Regions from separate parts of the Homo sapiens genome. Here regions 1 and 2 are each linked to region 3. The links are contacts of gene promoters, found by promoter capture Hi-C in human tissues and cell types (Jung and others, 2019). All regions are on one chromosome and are shown on one strand. Each heading gives the region's core, a stretch centred on a gene start or on the middle of the fragment in contact. The rest is flanking DNA. Distances are from core to core; before and after follow the strand shown.

The links. Contacts are between HindIII fragments. The study calls those that stand out against the background at their distance.
Region 1: a contact is called between a fragment that was not itself captured here and the fragment with the promoter of KHDRBS3 in region 3, in 1 of the 25 tissues and cell types used here (dorsolateral prefrontal cortex).
Region 2: a fragment that was not itself captured here is called in contact with the fragment with the promoter of KHDRBS3 in region 3 in 1 of the 25 tissues and cell types used here (dorsolateral prefrontal cortex).

Annotation. Positions count from the first base shown.
Region 1 is chr8:134,827,789-134,832,714 of GRCh38, forward strand. It overlaps a transcript of ZFAT not described here. Among named protein-coding and RNA genes, the nearest start is that of NCRNA00250, 7.8 kb to the right of the region's middle. RefSeq lists a silencer at 3,891-4,380. The HindIII fragment of the contact is 4,779 bases long and covers 950-4,926 here.
Region 2 is chr8:134,742,537-134,746,886 of GRCh38, forward strand. It overlaps a transcript of ZFAT not described here. Among named protein-coding and RNA genes, the nearest start is that of ZFAT, 32 kb to the left of the region's middle. The HindIII fragment of the contact is 5,573 bases long and covers 1-4,350 here.
Region 3 is chr8:135,455,477-135,460,484 of GRCh38, forward strand. It overlaps KHDRBS3 (KH RNA binding domain containing, signal transduction associated 3), which reads left to right and starts at 1,980. Exons shown (of 9, transcript NM_006558.3): 1 at 1,980-2,478. The coding sequence starts at 2,391. LOC101927872 (a long non-coding RNA gene) reads right to left here and starts at 2,499. Exons shown (of 4, transcript XR_002956731.2): 1 at 2,406-2,499. RefSeq lists a silencer at 1,852-2,151. The HindIII fragment of the contact is 4,912 bases long and covers 1-4,821 here.

The DNA.
Region 1 (4,926 bases), core at 2,089-4,588, 630 kb before region 3:
TAGTTAATATTATTTTGAAACCCCAGTTTACATAAAGTATGGTGCACTAATGACTGCATTTTATTGAAAAGAACATTGGGAATAGAAAAATTAAGTGACATTTTAAAAGTGACATTGGCTTAAATAATGAAATTGAGAACATAAATCAGTCTTCACTTCCAATTATAATTTCTAATCATTACCACTAGCCTCACGTATCTTGGCACAAATATTTGTAAACTGCAGTAGTATACTCACCTTTTTTACATGTATTTTTTAAAAATTGTAATTGTGTCCTCATTAATCATAAATCCAATGTAATGTACTTTTTAATCTATGTTCTGAAATTAACAGTCATTTGAGACAGTCCCTTGGGATTTTTTAAAAAATGGAAAACACTTCTTTTAATATCATCTCTTCTTTAATCTTCATTTTTACTCATTTGTTCAATTGAGGAACTAAGAGCCTGTACTAAAAAAATCAATGGCACCATTCAAGCTGTTCCTTCCATTTTTATAATATTCAATTATGCTAAGAGGTATGAAACCGTGCCCAGTATCCCGAAGTTGGGCTTTTGACCCATATTCAGTATTAAAATAATTTCTTGCTTTCTAATGTATAAAAACAAAACAAAATACTATTAAGCATTCTGAAGATATTTTTTACTTCTTGTATGCCCTGATGCTTAGCTCTTATCCTTCAAACCCCTTCTCTAAGAATAAAATTTCTCGAAAACTAGGAAAAGGTGAAGGCGTCACTGTTACCCAAGCCAGGCATGAACAGTATAAATCAAATGAAACTTGATTAGTTATCCTTAATAAAGTTTGCAGCTACTTCCTCCCTTTCCTCCTTATCCCCACATGAAGTACGAACTAACCCACAAATAAGTTCTCCTATTAACTCACATTCCTTTTTTTTCTACATAAGCAAAGCAAAATGATTTCTGAATTAAACTTCCCAAGTACTTCATTCATCATCTCCTGCAATTCCAAATAAACGCAAATGCATTAACACAAAGGGAAAAAACTCCTTTGAAAGAATACATAGTTGTTCTTTTACCAAAATAGCATTTTTCACAAGTGACTCAAACAGAATTACAGCTTAGGAAAATCAAGCCTTTAATTCTGAAGAATAATTTGCACCTACAGAAAATTTCAAGGTAACGGTTTTTACTGCTTGTGGACTTTAGACCAAATCTACTTATTTTGATTTTGCTGAAGTTTGGGTATAACTGCTTGTTGGCCTCTGCTGGGGGACCACTGTCCTAGTGAGAGTGTCTGACAACAAGGTGCTTTTGATACTCCACTAACTAAACTACCTTGGATGAGGTTCCTGACAAACCTGATCATAAAGTTTTACTCAATGGTGAAAAGCATTTTAATTAGGCTTCAATGTACTCCTTAAATCAGGCTTGTCCAACCCATGGCCCAGGACAGCTTTGAATGAGGCCCAACACAAATGTGTAAACTTTCTAAAAATATGAAATTTTTGTTGCAATTTTTTAAGCTCATTAGTTATTGTTAATGCATTTGATGTGTGGCCCAAGACAATTCTTCTTCTTCCAACGTGGCCCGGGGAGGCCAAAAGATTGGACACCGCTGCCTTAAATGATATGGGATAAATCAGATGACAATTTTCCCACTCAGTTAAACCATTATAGGTGGCATATAAGTGGAACAACACTGAATTTAACTTTGTCCCCAAATACTTTTGGTAAAGAGAGAACTCAAAGAACACACTGATAACCCTTACATATGCCAAAAATCTGTTCCTAAATTGTTGTATGCCAACTGATTATTCACAAATCAAATCACATTAGATAAATACCATTTAAAGGGATTAAGTATTTGAAAACAACTTTTAGTGAATCCCTTTTTTAAAATTCTCACATAATATAACCAACTAGTAATTAATTTGTTTTGCAATCTTACACTTTTAAATGTCAAATTTCTTAAAGTAGAGCACAGCTGTTTTCATAAGCTGAAACATTCACATCACATTACTGCCCTTCTTTCTAGTGCCCCTCAAGCAAGCTCTAAAAATGTCACCCAAAAAATGAGTTGTTCACCTGTGGTAGAATATACAAGAAATACTAGAAAAATTGAAAAATAAGCAATTCTTAAAAATGTAATATAGAAATGTGTGTATAGTATTTCAAAAAAAGTCAAAGAATTATTTTATTTTTGGCCATGATCACAATAAACGCTCGATAAAAATGATTTTTTAAAAAACCAAGATACGCACAGCCCAAATCACTTTCCCATGTGTTTTTACCACCTGGAGTAAACCGTTCAAGAACTGTTTATCTCCATGAACATATGACCTCCACGATGCCACCAAGGTCAACAAGACCTACAGGAGGGGGACATGCTAAGTGTTGATTTGTCCAATTCTACAGTTCCCTTGAAAAAGAGAGAAGAGAGAAAAACATAAAAATTTATTTATATATTACAAGAAATAATCTTTTCAGGTTGTAACAATTAAGTACCCCACTACAGGACTGTATACAGACATATGTCAGCTATGGCCAATAGGAGCAAGATGTAAAAGAGACCTCACAGCACAAAAGTAGCTGCACAGAAAGAATTAACAAGATCCCAAACGGACTGATCTCTCTCTGCATCTGGTACTGAAAACTTTTGGTATCCCGGCTACATGCCACAAGGACTCAATTTCAAAGTGAGGGTCCTCTGTTGAGGAAACTTTTTGAAAATGACAAATAACCAAAGATACATAATCAACAGAAAAAGCACCCACATATCAGAAATGCTTAGGTAAGGAGCAAGTGAGTATATGCCGAGACTGCTGGTTAACACCAAATTCACAGGTTGTTCTCTTATTCTCTACCAAAAATTCTCTCTGGCATTTCCTCAGCTATCATCACAATCCTGCACCTTTCACAAACCAGGAAGTTTTCTTAGATGAGATTTAAATTTTAAAACACATCCACTTGGGATAATGTTTATGCTAGACTTAAGTTCAAAAAATCCCTATCAGCTTGAAACCATTATATCGGTAATTTCCAGGTAACATTCAAATATATATATTTTTAAAGACATGCCACAGCTAGTACCTGATTTAGTGATTTAGTGGAGAGTTTAACTATGGATAATTCATTCTAACGTTTGGTAAACAGGTAGCATACACATACATGATGACAGTGTAAAATTAAACAGGAAAAAAATCAGCAAAAGCACTGGTTATTCACAATCAGCACAGGACTGTCTCGTAAATTACTTTCAGAGAAGCTCCAAACTGGTGGGTGGCACCGGGTCAATGCGATTACTTAACCCTGGCAGTTACAACTAAACTCCACTTTGATGGTATCCAAAGCTTATTACAAAAAGATGACTGCTTGGGCATATCAAGTACTTCGGTGTCCTCCTATTTTGTTCCCACGGAACACGGAGCCTGACACCTGAAACTCTTCAGACACACATCACCTTGCTTCGGGGCTTTAGAATTTTGTGTATATTATTTGTAAAGTCCACTGGACATAAATTCAGTTGTGTGTGTACAGGATTAATGTATTTCCTGCATGCACAAGTGAAGAACTCATGTCAAATCAAGCAGTTCCCTCTCTCCCAAGTAACTTTTTTATCATTTAGTCCTAAAATAACCATAAGCAACAAACATTAAACACTGGCATAGCAACGTGCACACATCATGCCCTGGTGCTACACACAGGCGGATTCGTTCATCTCTGGTCCCCATCCAGACGGGTGCTCCCGGCCTCTCTCACTCCCGGCCGGTCCAGCCTGGCTTCACCCGAGTTTTGCTGTGAAATCCGCCACTTTCGCTGGCCCCGGCAAAAAGCAAGGCGCCTCGTCCCGAGGGCAGAGTTTCTTGCAACTGCCGGATAAACATTTCCCGAAAGCTTCCCGCGGCCCCCACGCCCGGTCCCCCCACTTCACGAGCCCCGGGGAGGGGCCCACCTGCCTCCCGCCGCCCGCCCCATACCCTGTCGCCGCGGCTGCACTCCAGGGCCGCACCGCAGCGCCCACTTCCCGGCCCCGAGCCCCCCACGACTCGGACGCCCGACCCTGAGGGACGGGGGCGCCAAAAAAGCACCCCCCGACACAAGTGACCCCACGACGCCCCCCAGAGGCCGTGTCCCGAGAGCCTGTCAGCGCCCCGGAAGGGGGTCAGGCGGGGGGCTGAGCGCCCGGTGTCCTCTCCGCTCCGGACGCCCTCTCCCGCCCCAAGGCACTCACCTGGCCCGGGGTCGGGGGTCGGGCGAGGAGGCCGCCGGCCCGCCGCGGCCCCCACCCTCCCGCTCCCAGCGCCCCGCGCCCCGAGCCCGAGGCGCGCCTGGAGCGGCCGGGGGAGAGGGCGCGGGGACGCGCCAGCGCCAGGGTGAGGGGCGCGCGAGGGGCGGGGGGCAGGGGGCGCGGCGAGAGCTGGGGATCGGCGGCGTCCGCACTGAGAAAGCAGCCTCCGCCGCGTCCGTCATGGCGCGCGGCGGCGGCAGCGGCTCCCTCCGGTCTCTCTGCTCCCTCGCCTTTAGTTTGACCTTTCCCTCCAGTGTGTCTGAGGGAGAGCGGCTGTGCGCGCGCGTGTACATGTCTCTGTGTGTGTGTGCGCGCGCGCGTGGGGAAGGGGCCGGGTTCGCTCCCCGACGCCTGACGTCACTGCCATGGCAACGGCAACCCCCGCCCCTCGCTTCCCATTTCCTGTCCCCGCCCACTGTGCACGTTCTGGGGCCCTCACGTGCTCACTCACACGCACGCACGCAGGCACGCACTCTCGGGGCGCGCGCGCCCAGAGCGCTGGGGTTTGGGAGGTAATTTGGACCTCCGCCTGCCTCCCTTCCCTCGCTGCCTCCCGGAATTTGACCAATCCCGTGAGGAGGAGCCGTGGGCGGGGCGGGCTCGGCTCCCGGAGTGGCGTGAAAAATTTCCCGAGGCAGAGCGAAAAGTCTTCATGCGTTACTGAGCATGTCCGGTG
Region 2 (4,350 bases), core at 1,211-3,710, 710 kb before region 3:
TCTGATCAGATTCCTGAGCACAGTGGCAAGACTTCCCAGGACCTGGCTCCCACCTCTCTCCAGACTCGCATCCGCCCAGCCCCTCGGCTCTCTGCTACCACGCAATTATTTCATTCCTGAGCTCATCGTTCTCGCACTGCAAGTCTGTGAGCTCTGGCCCCCTGTGCTCCCTTCCCTCTCTTCCTGGAGCTAACTCCTGCTCTAGTCCTTCTGGTCTCAGCTCTGATGCCATATCCCAGACCTTCTGGAGCTGGGCTAGGGTATCACATAGCACATCAGGCTCTCCACTCTGGCCCTGAGTGGCGGTTGCAGTTAAGGAGCTGAGCTCCCCTCCAGCAAGCTCTAAGGGGAGGGCCCTCCTGCCAGCGCCTCACCCAGAGGTCTGGGAGCCTGACACCCATTCAGTGCACGCCCCAAGTGTGCCTCTGTCTCAGGTCCACGTTAGACTTGCCCATTCACAAAGTCCATTGGACTGTCACAACTGCTTCACCCCAGTTGACAGGTGTGAAAGAGTGACACATAATCAAGACTACACAAAAAGTGGCCGATCCATGACTGAAACACGTGGTGAAACCATCTCTATGCCCTTGCAGGTCTCATCACGATTGACTGCAAAGCCTCACTGGTTTGGGTTAATTGTGGCAAAGGCCAATCTAAATTAAGGAAAATGTGCCAGGTGTGGTGGCTCATGCCTGTAATCTCAACACTTCGGGAGGCAGAGGTGGGTGGATCACTTAAGGTCAGGAGTTCAAGACCAGCCTGGCCAACATGGTGAAACCCCGTCTCTACTAAAAATACAAAAATTAGCTGGGTCTGGTGATGGGCGCCTGTAATACCAGCTACTCGGGAGGCTGAGGCAGGAGAATAGCTTGAACCTGGGAGGTGGAGTTTGCAGTGAGCTGAGATCACACCATTGCACTCCAGCCTGGGCGACAGAGTGAGACTCCATCTCAAAGAAAAAAATTTAAAAAAATAAAAAATAAATGAAGGAAAATGTCATTATACTTTAAAAATATATACAACTTATTGTTATCAGTGACATACCTAATTGCAGCAAAGTGTTTCTTGGAAGAATCACTTTAGGGAACAGCTAAGAAGTCTTTGTAATCAGCCTGCTGGTTATTTGTAAAATAGTGCTTTTCACAGTCTCACAGAGTCTCACCTGGGGAGGGGAAGAGGGGGTTTGGAGATTGCTTTGCCCCAGAAGCGTCTGTCTCTCCTCAGCCTGGGCACCAGCCTGCCCAGTCACAGCGAGAAGAGAACCCACTTATCCACCTTTTCCTACTTGCCAGGCTCCTGGGGAGGCAAATCTCCACCCAGGGCTGCCAGAATTAAGACTGCCTTTCTTTTCTGGCCAAAAGGGCACACTGGTTTCTTATTGCAATGGCATAGAACATGTGGCTATCACGAGAGGGTGACAAGGACAGGCCAAACAGGTTTCTTGCTCCTCCGTTTGTTTTCTATTGCTACATAACACATCACTGCAAACTTAGTGACTGCAAGCTACACAAATTTATTATCTCACACTTTCCATGGGTCAGAAGTCCGGGCATGAGTTAACTGAATTTTCTAGTCAGGGTCTCACCATTTTAATGGGTAGTTGCTCTGCATTCCCCTCTGAGGCTCAAGGTCTTCTTCCAAGCTCACTGGTGGTTGGCAGAATTCATTTCCTTATGACCGTATGACTGAGGCCCCCATCTTTTTGCAGGCTGTTGTTCTTGCTGGCTGTTGGCTGGAAGCAACTCCTAGAGGCTAAGAGTTTTTTTTTTTTTTTTTTGAGATGGAGTCTTGCTCTGTTGCCTAGGCTGGAGTGCAGTGGCATAATCTTGGCTCACGGCAACCTCTGCCTTGCAGGTTCAAGCAATTCTCCTGCCTCAGCCTCCTGAGTAGATGGAATTACAGGCACCCGCCACCATGCCCGGCTAATTTTTGTATTTTTAGTAGAGATGGGGTTTCATCACATTGGCCAGGCTGGTCTCAAACTCCTGACCTCAAGTGATCCACCTGCCCCAGCCTCCCAAAGTGCTGGGATTACAGACGTGAACCACTGCGCGCAGCCTGAAGGCTAAGAGTTCTTTGTCACATTGCTTTCTACACAGGCCCCCTCACAACAAAGCAGTTTACTTCTTCAAAGTCAGCAGGAAAATCTTTTGTACTTCAAATCTCTTCCTTCAGGAAGGGCCTACTCTCCTTTTTTTTTTTTTTTTTTTTGAGACGGAGGCTTGCTCTGTCACCTAGGCTGGAGTGCAGTGGCCTGATCTCGGCTCACTGCAACTTCCACCTCCTGGGTTCATGCCATTCTCCTGCCTCAGCCTCCCAAGTAGCTGGGACTACAGGCGCCCGCCACCAGGCCCGGCTACTTTTTCGTATTTTTAGTGGAGATGGGGTTTCACCATGTTAGCCAGGATGGTCTCGATCGCCTGACCTCGTGATCCGCCCACCTCGGCCTCCCAAAGTGCTGGAATTACAGGCGTAGCCACCGCGCCCGGCCAGGAAGGGCCTACTCTCTTGTAAGGGCTCGTCTAATTTGCTCAGGATAATCTCCTTTTGATTAACCCTATGTCACCTGATTTGGTACATCAATTATATCTGCAAAATCCCTTCACCCCTTTACCTAATTGTGGGAATGAAATCTACCACATTTACAGCCCTGCTCACACTTGAGGGAAGGGAATCATATGGCATGTTCACCAGGGGTGGAGCCTGGAATTCTGTCTACCACGGTTCCCTGGTCTAACTCCTTAAGACGTGCAATGCCAAGCAGGATCCAGGTATCCTTGCACTGCTCTTGCCATCTGCTGGGTGGGATTCTGCAATGGTTAAGACAGTCCTGGACCCTAAAGCTGGCCTAGCTTGCTTGGTTTCGAATGCAGAAAGGTTCTGCCCTGAGTCTACAGCTGAGTGAATGTTCCAGTAAGGAGGTGGGAGAGGTAATGGTCAAAGCTGGGTTAAGACTTTATTACTTTCTCTATGACAGAGAAAGGGAAAAGAGGAGTTAGTGAGGACATGAGATCACAATGTTCTTTGACCTATTTTGGTTAGCAAAAAGTGCCGTGGACTCCCCAGTTTCACAGTGATGTTCAACATGGGCTAATGTGATTTCTAGGCAGAGGAGCTTTTATCAGATCATAAAAAGCCAAGGTTCAGGATTTTGCTTGCTGCCTTGCAGGTTTGCAATCTAAGGTCTCACTGAAGGGATTTCCTCAAGGGTTACCAATAATAGCATTACTTTATTTACTCATCCAAAACATCCTGTGAGATGAGTATATTATTATTATTATTCCCATTTTATAAGTATGGAAACTGAAGCTCAGAGAGGTTAAGTAACCTGCTTAGTCACGCAGCTATTTAGTATAGAAAGATGGGGTTGGTTGCAGTCTGTCTGGCTCCAAAGCCTTTGCTGGTTACCATTTATGAGGCAGTTTCTTAGTTTTTCACATCAGCCCCTTTGCCTGTGCTCTTCCTGCTCTCTGGGACTCTGCCTAATACTTTACAAGAAAGCCCCTTCCAGGTTTCATTGGCCCTGAGTGTAAAACTTCTTTAATTTGGAATCTACCATTATATTGATTTCCTCTCAATTCCGCTCTTTGCAGTACATTGAAAAAGCAACCAACCAACCAATCAATGAAAAGAACCTCCTCCTTTTGCAAGACATTCAAATGTTTAACAGCAGCTCTCATGTTCTCTCTAGGACTAAATCTTGCTAGGTTTTCTCACCATTCCTCACATGACTTGATTTCCTGATCATCTGTAATTCTATTTGCCCTCTGGTTAATCTTTGATTTATCATTTTCTGCTGAAAACAAGATGCCCCAAATTGAAGACTGTTTGTGCTATGTCTAAAACGTAGAACACCGCAAGACCATCACCCACCTGATATGGATACTATGGCTGTGTTAATGTACCCTAAAATCGCATTAGCTTTTTAAACAGCCAAATCACATTGTTGGCCCATATTTAAATTGCACTTGGCTAACACTTTGGGTCTTTCTCCACTAAACTAATGTCAAGCCACAGCCTCTCAATACTGACCTTGTGTTGCTGAACTTTTTTTTAACCTAGTTTTCATTTCCTTTCTGCCCTCTTTTGGAACATGTTCAAATCCTTGTAAGTCTGAATCTCCAATGCAGTGTCTTAGTTCTTCCCCCAGTGCTGAGTCATCTGTACAGTTCATAAGTAAGTTTTTTAGCTCTTCAGCCAGATATCAATCAAGTGTTACAATGGACGAGTTGAAGAGTAGAGTTATTTAAGGTTGTTATGACAAGTTAAATAACTGAACAATTAAAAATTGTTAATCCCTTAATTGAACTAGAATCCACGCTTTGTGAAAATTGAGCTATAATATGTCTG
Region 3 (5,008 bases), core at 730-3,229:
GGTTTGGGAAGTGCCCTTTTTGTTTCTGGGGCTGAGAGGCCAGTCATAGACCTGGGATTGAGAAGAGCAGCCACAAGCAGCCTACAAGCCTGACGCTGGGCCCAGGTCAGAAACAGAGGTGCGACAGTCACAGGTCCTTCACTCAGTTGGCCAGGCCGGGGCGAAGCACCACGACCAGCAGTGAGGAGTCCACAGATGGGTGTCTGCCCAGCATCCCTGGAGTTACAGCTGAAGGGAAGGCGAGGGAGGCTCAGAAGGCCCAGAGGACAGCCTTGCAGCCGGAAAAAACCCAAAGCAAAGATCAGCTCAGCATTTCCGATAGGCAGAGTGCTGTTTTGGGTATTTCATTATGAGTTAACATATTTATTCTCATGAACTTCTTATGAAATAAGTTTGGTTGTCATCTCCACTTGACGGATGAGGACCCTGAGGTGAAGAAACTTGCCCAAGGTCACAGCTAGTGAGCAGCAGATCCATGATTCCAAATCCAGGCTGTTTAACCCCAGAGGCTTTGCTTTTAACTGTGCCATTTTTCTGCTTCTTGCAAGTTGAGACTGAAGAGAGCCATGAAGAAGACTCTTACTGGGGACTCTGAAATGACACCTTAGCCGGGGGAGGAGTGGAGCCTTGAGAGTGAGGGCAGTTGAGTACTCGGGTCTGGGACTTAGAGCTTCCAAGATTTCTACCACCTCCCACTCCCCTCGGGTTTGTAAAGCTGCCTCCATTTGCATTGGGAGTGCGGGGGGGCTGCCTGGGGGACTGTGGCGATTGTCCTCAGGCTATTGGCTGAGAGTGGTATGCCACTGACTTATTCCTCCAAGAGACATTTCCAGTACCCTCCATCCCTGCCCCCTGTACTACACACTGGTGACCTTCCCCCTCAAAAACAAAACTCAAACTCTGTCCCTGATGCTCATGGTCTACTGAAAACAGAATTACAGCTGTCTGTGAATGACCTCTGACCAAGCTGGGGGGACACAGAGAAGGGACTTGTGACTTGCTTTGCCAGGGAGGTCCTGAGAGGCTGTCCAGGGAAGGTGACATTGAGGCCGGGACTTGAGCTGGCTGTTTGAAGGCAGGAAAAATGGCAGGGCAAGGACTGGAGTCCTTCGCCTTCCTGGGGGACGTTTATTCCACATGCCTCGGGAAATCTGAAATGGCCTTGGAGAGCATTTGCTGGGGGTTGGGGGTGGGCGGAAGGGGACAGAGAGCATTGCCACCGACAGGCGGGGCGTCCCAGGGCCTCTCCCCAGGAGCGGATGAGCTCAGACGCGGCTCACTCAGCTGTGTCCAGGCACAGCCGGTTTATGACCTAAGAGAATGACAACCCAGGAGCAAGTCGGGATGACAAAGACGCCCAGAAGGGCACGCGCTTTTATGTAACCGACCTCTGAGCTGGCGGATCTCAGGAGGTTGGCGCTCTGAGCTCAGGCGCGGAGAAAGGACGGCGCCCCTGCCTTACTCTCTTATAAGTACGAGGGGACAGCAACGCGACATAACTTAGAGAAGTCCAGGAAGCTTTAGAGAGCAGGGCGGTCCCGCTGCTATTCCTCAGAGCGCGACTGGGGCGAACTGGGGCGCCCTTCCCAGCTCCAGCTCGGCCCTTGTCCCCTCTTCCCAGGATCACTCGCTGGGTGACCTTGGGCGAGCCACTTGACTTCTCTGAGCCCCAGTTTCCCAGTCCGTGCATCTGAAAGGCTGTAATAGCGTCGTGGGGCTCCCCACTCGGCCCTCAGGGCCAAAGGTGGGCGCCGGACACGCGGGAGGGGCCCTTGGACGCACCCCCTCTCGCAAACGCCCGGTTAGTCCCGGCGGACTCGCAGTGGAGAGCGGCCCCAGGAGGCGGCGGGCGGCGGGGCGGTGGGCGCCAGTGCGCAGGCGCGGCGCGGCAGGGCGGGGCGGCGGGCGCGGGGCGGGGCGGGGCGGAGCCGGGCGGGGCGGGGCCGGCGGCAGGCGCTGGGCGCTCGGCGCGGTGGCTCAGAGTGCGCGGGGCGGCGCGCGGCGTGCAGGTCGCAGCTGTGGCTCGGGTGCTGGCAGGTGCTGGCGGGACTGGCGGGGATCGCCGTGGACTGCCTCAGGGGCGCCGCAGCCCGCTCGGCCCGAGGGCCCGCCTAACCGCGCCGCCCGCGCCCGCTCCTCCTCGGCCCGCGCCCGGAGCGCGGGGGCCGCCGGCGCTGGGTACTCGGCGGCCACCGGGGATCGGGGCTGAGCGGTCGGTTCCCGCCCCCGTGCCGCCGCCGCCGCCTTCCGGCCGACCGCCCGGCTTGGCCGCTGCTGCCGCGTCTGGCCCCCGGGTCCCCGCCGCTGGGGGCGCGGGCGGGGTCGGGGGTTGCCGGGCGCCGCCCCCCGTGCGCCTGGAGTCCACATCCCGGGCCCGGCGGCCGGCGAGCATGGAGGAGAAGTACCTGCCCGAGCTGATGGCGGAGAAGGACTCCCTGGACCCCTCCTTCACGCACGCCCTGCGCCTGGTGAACCAAGGTGAGGCGCCGGCCGTTAACTGCCGGCCGGCGGCGGTTGGGGGCCGGGTGGAAACGCGGGGGCCCAGGGGGCCCCTCCGTGCCCTCTGCTGTCAGCGGACGCGGCGGAGACGGAGGCCCGGGTGGCCCCCGGGGTCGTTTGCACGGGGACCTGGGAGGCTGTGGGACACCTAGGGGAAGACCCTGATGTGAATTTTGGGGACTTGGAAGGAGAAGGCTGGGGCGCATGGGTGAGACTTGAAGGAAATCTTTGGGGACTCGGGCACACCCAGGGGAAACTTCTGGGTGGGGGACAGCGACCATCTGGGGGCTTCGTTGGGAACGAGGTTGAATTATGTCATGGAAGGGGAGCGTGTTGGACTCGGGGAAGTAGGGCGTTTGGTTTGTCTAAGGTACTGGAGAAAAAGCTGGAGGAAAATGGAAGGACTTGAGGGACTCAAATGCAGAAGAGGTGAAGGGAACAGGTGCTTGCATTGTTAGCGAAGTTTGGGGACCTTGGAAGAGGGTTGGGGTCAGACCCCAGCACCTGAGAGGAGAGGAGCTCCGTGGTCCCAGGGGAGGAGCCCAGTTCCCCCTCCCAGCCCTTTGTCTCTCCTGTGTCCAGGCTCCAACAGCCCTGGCGGGGCAGTCAGCCCTCCCAGGGGATGGGCAGCCCATGCCAAGCCTTGCAGGCTGGCCCTTGGAGAAGTCAGTAGGGGAGAAGAGGCCGGCAAAAGAGCACCGTTCCGGAGGGCGTTGGGTTGGGTGACCCTCATTGGTGGCTGGCTTGAGGTTCGGAATAGTGGTGAAGGGAGTCCTTGCCATTTTCACACGACTCCAGCCAGCTCAGGGTGTGAAAGATCCTAGGAAGTACTGCGGGTCAGGGATACAGAGATTTCTGGAGGCACGCCTACCCGGGACAGTGTTCCCCTGGCTTTTTCCTCCTGTGGCTTCCTGAATCATCTGCTGGCATGCACGGTAAATTAAGCCTTCCTTCCTGGGAGCAGTCTCCTACTTTTCCTGGAATATGTGTTTCAGATGAAGATGGGTGTGGGTGCCACTGGTCTGTCTTTTCTCTGGGAAATGGCAGCAACATGATCTGGTCAGATCTGTTACCTTTTGCAGGAATTACTGTGCACTGACAGTCTGTGGTTCCCTAGATGAATCGGATCTGCTGCTCTTAGTGCTCGCCCTGGCTTTTTTATTGTTGGAAGTGAAAGATGAGGCAGACATATTCTATTTGTATATAGATACCTATATTTTAAAACAGTGACCTCCAGTTTTTGCCTGTTTCAACCAGTTCTTCAGAGTAGAGTGTGTGTGTGGTTGACCGATGGTGGAGGAGAGACTCTTTACTGTCTCCAAGAATTTAAGAATATTTGAATTGTTGAACAGAAATAGACTTATGGAGCTCCCTCATTTTATTTTAATTGCAGGCTTATTTTTATTTCTTTAATAAAATGGGCTTGTGAAAAAGTGAATGGGCATGCATTCCTAAATAAAAGAAAAAAAATTAAGTTTTATTTCTATGCCCTCTGAACAGTTCTGCAGTTGAGTTTGTACTCCTGTGCCTGATGATTTACATGTATCTTTTATTGCCTGCTGGGCTGTCATCTCTGTGAAAGAAATTTCTTCATACATTGCATGAGATCCGTGGCATTGGAAATATTCTGGACTGTGGACTCAAGTGCATTTTTCCTAATAAAGTAGCTGAATCAAAGTTAGGTTGTACTCAATTAAGGAACAGTTAAACTGAAAGTACAGTGCGTTATCTTATTTTAAAAGTCAGAATTATTTTCTCTGCCGTGTTGCCATAGTATTGTGTTGCTAAAACGTCCAAAATTCTTTTGGATTCTGTGTTTTTACCAGTGTTAATGGCTTCCAGTTACTTGAAACAGATATTTACTGGGGAAATGTTGCCATTTAGTGTTTTTTAGGTATTCAACTTGATAAACTTACTTTTCATAGAAGTAATTCTTATAAGAAGTATATTTCTCACATGTGAAGGAAGGAGGAGGTGCTGCTCAGAATCTTGTCTTACTGTTAGTTTAGATGACTTCAGACTGAAACATTTTTCTCTTAAATCACAGGCTGATATTCGGAATGCAGAGCTTTATCATTTAAAACATTAATTACACGCTTATGTAACTGCAAAATTACAAGTGTTTTAAATCTGAAGCTACATGATTGTGAGGAAGCTTTGATTTTAAATCCAACCATCTTGTTATGGGCTATTTTTTCTTATTTAGTTATATTTGTGTTTGCCTCTAATGCAACTGTGTTTTCAGCAGTTATTCACATTGGAGTTGGTATTTCAGCACTAAATTGTAGAATGGGCCAGCATGGCAAACCTTAGCGTGCCATGTAATAGATATGTTTTATGGTATCTCTAAACTCTAACAAGGCCTTACATTTGCATAGTATTTTAAAGTTTCCAAGGCACTAGTTTTGTCCTCACACTTGCATTCCGGTAAGGCAGATGTTCATGTCTTCTCTTTTCAGGAAGGCAGCTGAGGATCCCAGCTATCTAAGCTTTTGGGCAACTGAGATTT